Regions from separate parts of the Homo sapiens genome. Here region 2 is linked to region 1. The links are contacts of gene promoters, found by promoter capture Hi-C in blood cells and fetal thymus (Javierre and others, 2016). All regions are on one chromosome and are shown on one strand. Each heading gives the region's core, a stretch centred on a gene start or on the middle of the fragment in contact. The rest is flanking DNA. Distances are from core to core; before and after follow the strand shown.

Region 1 (4,089 bases), core at 303-2,802:
GTGTATGTGTGTGTCTGTGTCTGTATATGTCTGTGTATGTGTGTGTGTGTTCCTTTTCATTTTTTTTCATTCTTGCAATCTTATCTAAATAAAACTTCATTACCTTAAATATAAATTACTGCAATTAGTTTGCTTCTAGTCTTTTCCACTCTAAAGTAATCCACATGTGTCTCTCAGGTCAGTTTTCTGAAAGAAAACTATCATTTCACTTTTCTGCCAGGAAATTTTAAATGTTTCAAACACGCTACATAGGATTGGATATAATGTCTTCCATTAACTAGGAAACATTAATCAAAGAAGACTCTTCTACACATTTAAACATTTAACTTTCATGCTATGTTGATTAATTGAGGTTTAGGATAATACTCTCTGACAATTCCATGAGAGTCATGAAAGGTAGTAATAACAGTTACCAGTGAGTTTCCCCGATTCATTCTGGTTGTGGGATTTGGATAAAGATTTGTGAAACAATTTTGAAATTCCATTGATATATTTTTTAAACAAACATAGCCTAATGATTTATAAGCTTACATTTTGTGTAAAATCACATATTAATTTTTCTATGTTCCCTCTTTATGAAAGCATTTTAATAAATTAAAAATAAATTTGCTATAGAGCAAGTTTGTTTAAGAATGTTATAATTCCTCATAATTTTTTTAAGAACATTTATGACCTCCTTATTTCTCAGACTATAAATAAAAGGGTTTAGTAATGGGATTACTATTGCATAAAATATTGCCACTGGTGTATCTTTATCTCCTTCTTCAGATGGTCCAATATACATGAGAAGACAAATGTAAAATATTGAGACAGAGAGAAAGTGGGATGCACAGGTAGAAAATGCTTTACCTCTTCCCTCCTTGGATTTCATTTTGAAAACAGTCAAAAGGATGCAGAGATAAGAGATCAAGACAGTAGCAATGGTAAAGATTTGAATTGGTATTGAAAAGATATATATCATTAGTTCATTAATAGAAGGATCTGTACAGGAGAGTCTATACAGTGGAAGAATATCACAGAAAAAGTGGTGAATTTTATTAGACCTGCAGAAAGTTAACCTTAATAAAAGCCCTACATGAATCATGGAATGCAGGTTTCCAGCTTTGAAGGCCCCTGTGGTCATCCGAATGCAGAGCGTCTTGGACATCATGGTGTGGTACTGCAGTGGGTGGCATATGGCCACATAGCGGTCATAGGCCATTGTCGCCAGAAGAAAGCAGTCTGTGGTTTCAGCAAGACAGAGAAAATAAAATTGTGCCATACATTCATACAGGGAAATAATTCTATCCTCAGAAAAGAAATTCTCTAACATCTTGGGGGTAACAGCACAGGAACAGCAGGAATCCATCAGAGCCAGGTTGCCCAGAAAGATGTACATTGGTGTGAGAAGACGACGCTCTACATAAATTAATGCCACCAGACCAAGATTCCCCACCATGGTGACCAGATAGATGGCAGAGAACACCACAAACAGAAGCGTCTTCAGCTCTGGATAATTTGTAAATCCTATGAGGATGAATTCAGCTGCTAAGGAGTGATTTTCCCTAGCCATTCCTGGCTTCTCTTCTGAGACATAAATTGTAAAGAAATGTAAGATTCCAAAGCAGAATGTTTCTAATTCTCACCCTCTAATTTCCCTGTATACAAAAGGGAAGAAAGTCTTCTTCAAATTATCCTGTGCCATCTCCTAAACACTAGCACACTCACTGTGGGTCAAATCAAGTGAGAAAAAATGTATCATGGATTGTGTACCCAGGGCTTGTCTGAAAATATCTGTGTGAATTCCTAGGGCAGGAAAGCTTTATCTGCATGAATTATCCTATGCCGATGTAAAATCTGTGGTCAGTACATATAATTTTCCATTTCCAAAATTAAGACATTTTCTTATGGTATCTTTTCCTCCAGGAAAAAGTAAACAAGTTTTAAATCGTATCCTATTGGATCAATGTGACGCTTAAAATGAATTACTCTTAAGGCATTTTAAATGTCTACATTTTAAAAACTGCACAGAAACACAGTGATTTGAAGAATGCTTTTGCTAGCTTAGTAACCCTTTCCAGATAAGGTCACCAATTGCATATTTTATGAGATATCTACTCATCCTTTTAGAGAGGATAAGAATATGAAACATCTATGAGTGTTCTTAATCATTGTATTGGATATCATTTTTATGTTCATTTCAACATATTCTAGATACTATTCCAATCTTGGTATGACAAATTTCCCAAGGAGTTATTACTCTTAATTGCTCACTTATCCTAATACTTTCTGTCTCTAGTTTTAAGAGTTTTACATGCATGTCCAACATTGTAAGATTTGGTGGCAAAATCTCCACTCATAATGTGAATATTCTTCATGGTAAATATCTATTTTGTATTCACTCAAACATCTCTCATAGAAAGTAATGTCTTCATTTTCAGTGAGTTCTATGGAGGTTCTCCATTTATTTACTTGAGTTTTAAATTTATTTAAATTTACAAACTCATTATCTACTCTTTACTGGCTATATATTTATTTGAGTTTAATGATCAACTAAATTTATTATATAGTTCTTATAGTTTGGCAACTGTACATTAAAATATTTCAGGTACAGAAACAATTTGAGTTTTAAAGAATAATAAAATTAACTTTCTTTTCTTTTAGAAGTTTCTAAAAGTCTTTAGCCTTAGCATACTCCAAACAGACAATTTTGGAGAAGAGCCTACGATAGTTAATTCAAAGCACATTTTTTTTTTTTTTGAGACAGAGTTTCAAGCACTTCTCCTGCCTCAGCCTCCCGAGTAGCTGGGATTACAGGCATGAGCCACCATGCCTGGCTAATTTTGTATTTTTAGTAGAGACGGGGTTTCACCATGTTGGTCAGGCTGGTCTCGAACTCCTGACCTCAGGCGATCCGCCCGCCTCGGCCTCCCAAAATGCTGGGATTACAGGCATGAGTCACCTCGCCCGGCCAGTGAATTACTTTGAAAACATTTTGGTTAGGTTTTCTCTGTTTCTTACTTTTGTTTTTCTATTGACTCACATAATATGATGAGGTTTTCTGGAGTTTTATCACTAGAGGCTTGTAATCAAATGAATACAATAAAATGTCCTTTATATTTTAGGTCTATACCTCTTTTAAAAAATCTTTCAGAATTATATTTTTAAAAAAACTTTGTAAAAGTATAAAATGCTGCTCTTTATCATTATTTTAGTAACATCTAATGGAAAATCAACTGAAAATATTTATCAGGTGGACTGTGGAAAAATGGATTTTATTATCAATAATTATTTTATATAGATCATATTTCAGAATATAATGAGTAAAATCTCATTTTCTCTTCACCAATGTAAAATATAATTTTTGAACTTAATCAAAAATTAATTTGCCTATAGATCGCAGAATTACTGTACAAGGACATCATCAGCCTTATCTGTGTATTTGCTGATAAAATTATGGTACTTTTGAACAAAGAATAGGTCAGACTTATCCACTTACTATGTCTCCTTATGGCTTTCTATAATGGCTTCACTTTAGAGACAAAGAGAATTATTAAGTGGCTAAAATTTAAAAACAATAAAAATACTGAAGTATATTAGAAAATTTATATTCTGCATTTTGATACTATAATATAAATAAATTAGTAAATAAAATTAAGTCCTCATATTTTGAGTTCACTGAGAAACATTTTATAGTAGCTGACTGGTCTCCTGATGTTTTTTCTTTGTAGGGAAATTAAGAATAAAAACATTGGTTTTTAAATCATTAGGGAATAAATTATAAAAATCTAGGACACTCCCTACCAATAGGTTAGTGACAATAGTTATGCAAGTCTCAGGCAAAGTTAAAGTTTTCTATTCTAAAGGGACTTCCTCGGCATTGGCATCAGAGTGTTTCTGCAGAGACTCTAATCTGATGAGCATGGTTCCCCCAGCACCAGTAAATCAAACAGCATATAAAGATGGATGCATTTTGAGATTCGGAAGTTAAATCAAAATTGCTATCACTAAAAACAGCTTAAGGTTCATCTTGATTTTTCACATACTTGGAAACTCTCTCTTTCTCTTACACACAGACACACACACACACACACACACACACACACACAC
Region 2 (3,780 bases), core at 1,149-3,648, 140 kb before region 1:
GCAAGGAAATACTGAAATGTCTGAGTATAATTGGAATGAACTAGGTTAGGTTTTCTTGGAGGTTACAAATATACACTATATTTTTATAGTTTTTCATTCATGATTTAGGGAATTATATCTAGAAATATATCTGTTTTCTACTCCCTTTTCTATATAGACTCAGCATGCTGATTTTCCATGTGATGCCAGCCTCTGGTGGCTGGCTAGCTTGAGGCCCACTGCAATCTGACAACTGCCTTCTGGAAATTTAGATGTGACCACAGAGCATCAAGAGAGGAGGTGGAAGGGAGAATTTTTCTGTTACTTGTTATGGGTCCTCCTTGTTCCAGAAGTTAGTAATTAAAATAATGGCAATGTTCTATTATTTAAGAAGATGAAAAGAGTGGTGTCTTGGTCATTAATATGTCTCAGCATCTAGAACAGTGCTTGCACATAGCAGAATCTCAATAAATATATGTAGAGTGAATAATTGGAAAGTATCTCTTTAATGATGTCACATAAGATTATTAGGTTCTATCCATATTAAACGACTTTAAGTTTTGCAATGGTGAAGGAATAAAAGAAAATATTTGAGATAAGCCCTGTCCACAGTCCCACAATCACACTTTTTTACATGTCTGTATATAATATACCCAAAGGTTGTGTCTCCATTGTTTAACCCCTTCCTCACCTCTCAGGAATGGGCACAGAGAAGTTTAGCCTAACTCACTGACAATGAAGGCTCTTCAGATCTACATGAAGTTTGAAATGTTTGTCTAGAACTTTATGATATGGTATCTTTATGCATGTAGGTTTTGGAGTAAATAAAACTTAATGTAACCTATCTTGAAATTTGACATTCTGATTTTAATTATTTAAATGTTTAAATCATTTAACAACAACTTCTATTTGGAAATATAATATTCACTTTTATTGGCACAATCACTTCCTGACTACCTCATTCTAACTACAATAATGTCCCCCACATGCTATTACATTTTCTTCCTCAAAATTCACTTGCCATTTTTGTTGCTCATGGATATAAGTGAGTTCGTTGGTTGACTGTTCACATGATCTTAAACACTTAACTGTAATGCACATGTTGTAAGCTATAGAGTGGGCTGGTTATCAAAGCCCGCTTTGTAAATGGTATGGCTTTTTATATTTGTAACTGGTAGTTTTGCTGTTGTTTTGGGTGTTGATCATCATTGATACTAACACAGTCTATAGGCATGGTGGCTTTCTACATTGCTGCTTGAGTGAATTCAATGTCTGCATGTGCTTTTAAATTCTGAGTAAATATTTAGCACAGTTCACTCCTTTCCATGAATTTTCCCTGTCACATATTTCTGCTTAATTTGATTGTATTTTGATATGTTTTAATATTTTGTATACAATTAGTACACTTCCTCTGTGTAATTTTATTTAGAAGTTTTTTGAGCATTAAACCATTAAGCTAGGATAGATGTCATTTGTTCACACTTCCTTGAGATTTTATTTTCAGCAGAATTTTTCTTAAGACACTTATTACTTCCTTGTTTCTCAGACTATAAATGAAAGGATTTAGTAAGGGAACTACTATTGTAAATAAAATAGCAGCTGGTATATCATTACCTCCTTCTTCAAGCAAATTTGGTCTAATGTATAGGAAAAAAATAGATCCATAGAATAATGAAACTGATGAAAAGTGGGATGCACAAGTAGAAAAGGCTTTGGCCCTTCCCTCCTTGGATTTCATTCTGAAAATAGTAAGAAGAATATAGAGATAAGATATTAAGACACTACCTATGGTAAAGACTTGAACTGAACCTGAGAAGATGAATAGAACCAGTTCATTGATGAAAGGGTCAACACAGGAGAGTCTATACAAGGGAAGAGTATCACAGTAAAAGTGGTTGATGTGATTCAATCCACAGAAAACTAACCTAAATACAAGCCCTACATGAATCATGGAATGCAGATTTCCAGCTATGAAGGCGCCTGTGGTCATCTGAATGCAGAGTTTCTTGGACATCATGATGTGGTACTGCAGTGGGTTGCAGATGGCCACATAGCGGTCATAGGCCACTGCTGCCAGAAGAAAGCAGTCTGCAGTTTCCACAGTGCAAAGAAAATAAAACTGTACTGCACATTCATAGAGGGAAATCCTTTTGCCCTCAGAAAAGAAGTTCTCTAACATTTTGGGGGTAATAGCACAGGCACAGCAAGAATCCACAAGAGCCAGATTTCCCAGAAAGATGTACATTGGTGTGTGAAGCCGACAGTGTGTAAATATCAGTGCCACCAAACTAATATTCCCCACCACGGTGATCAGATAGATGGCAAAGAACACCACAAACAGCAGAGTCTTCAGCTCAGGGTGATCTGTAAATCCTGTGAGGATAAACTCATTTTTCATGGTATGATTTTCTTCAACCATTCCTGACCTCTCTGAAAAAAATTGTAGAGGAATAAGGCACTAATTAATAATATGCCACAATTATTGACGTCTCTTTGGCTTAAAAGAAGGAGAGCATCTTCCACAATGTCTCCTCATCTTGCCTGGAATTTGGTGCATGCCCAATTCACTGCGAGAATGAGTCTCCTGAGGCTACTACTTTTGTGGCTATTGGTTGAACATGTTTCTATCATATTTTGAAAAAATATCTGATTGGGTGCACAAGGATGACTTTTGAGGTCTTGAGAGAAATATTGAGAGCACAGAACTTCTCCATATAGTATAGGTAAAGCTGATTCGTAATTTAAGTGTCAGTAATTGGTACCAGTGTTCCCGATTTCAATGTTTGTATATGTAGTGGTTAACAATGTGTTTAAAAGACTATTTTTGTATGCTAATGTTAACAGCAGCATTACCTTCAATAACCAAAACGTAAAAACAACCCAAATGTTCATGGACAGGTGAATGGATAAATAAATTGTGGTGGAATATTACTCAGTCTTAAAAAGGATTGAAATTCTCATACATGTTACAACATGGATTAACCTTGAGGACATAAGGCTGATTGAAATAAGCCAGACACAAAAGGACAAATATTGTATGATTCCAATTACATGAGAAAGCTAGAGTAGTCGAACTTACAGAGACAGAAAGTTGAATGGTAGTTGCCAGGGGAAGGGGTCTACTGGGAGCTATTGTTTAATGGGTACAGTGTTTCTGTTTAGGAAGATGAAAATGTTCTAGAGATAAATGATGGTGATCATTCCACAACAATATTAATGCACTTAATGCTACTGAACTGTACACTTAAATATGACTAAAATGATAAAAGTTATGTTGTGTATAATTTACCCCAATAAAAATATTTTTAAAATACTATTTTCATCTGCCTATTTCAGCAAATTACTATCTCCAATACTAGTGGAATATACACTTAAAAATAAGATGCTCTGGGGGAAAAGGGAATATTTATAAGATATTTATATTCCTGGGAGTTGGGGAGTAAAAGTGTTATGGATGGAAGCTGGGAGAAAAAACAAAACACTGCATTTAAAAAGTCTGGTGAGCACAGTGGCTTATGCCTGTAATCCCAGCACTTCAGGAGGCTGAGGAGGGAGCATCACTTGAATCCAGGAGTTCCAGACCAGCCTGGGCAACATAATGAGGCCCTGTCTCTTAAAAAAAAAAATAAAGTATATAAAATTACCAGGGCATTGTGACATGCTCCTGTAGTGCCAGCTACTGGGGAGGCTGAGGTGAGAGGATTCATTGAGCCTGAGAGATGGGGGCTGCAGTGAGCCATAATAGCATCACTGCACTCCAGCCTGGGTGACACAGCGAGACCCTGTCTCAAAAAAACCAAA

What was found. Contacts are between HindIII fragments. The CHiCAGO score rates a contact against its expected background, and 5 or more counts as called.
Region 2: the fragment with the promoter of OR5K2 here is called in contact with the fragment with the promoter of OR5K4 in region 1 in 3 of 17 cell types (naive CD8 T cells, activated CD4 T cells and total CD8 T cells); the score reaches 7.1 in naive CD8 T cells.

Annotation. Positions count from the first base shown.
Region 1 is chr3:98,351,317-98,355,405 of GRCh38, reverse strand. It overlaps OR5K4 (olfactory receptor family 5 subfamily K member 4), which reads right to left and starts at 1,552. Exons shown (of 1, transcript NM_001005517.1): 1 at 587-1,552. The coding sequence starts at 1,552. The coding sequence ends at 587. The HindIII fragment of the contact is 1,273 bases long and covers 529-1,801 here.
Region 2 is chr3:98,496,299-98,500,078 of GRCh38, reverse strand. OR5K2 (olfactory receptor family 5 subfamily K member 2) reads right to left here and starts at 2,398. Exons shown (of 1, transcript NM_001004737.1): 1 at 1,448-2,398. The coding sequence starts at 2,398. The coding sequence ends at 1,448. The HindIII fragment of the contact is 17,047 bases long and covers 1-3,780 here.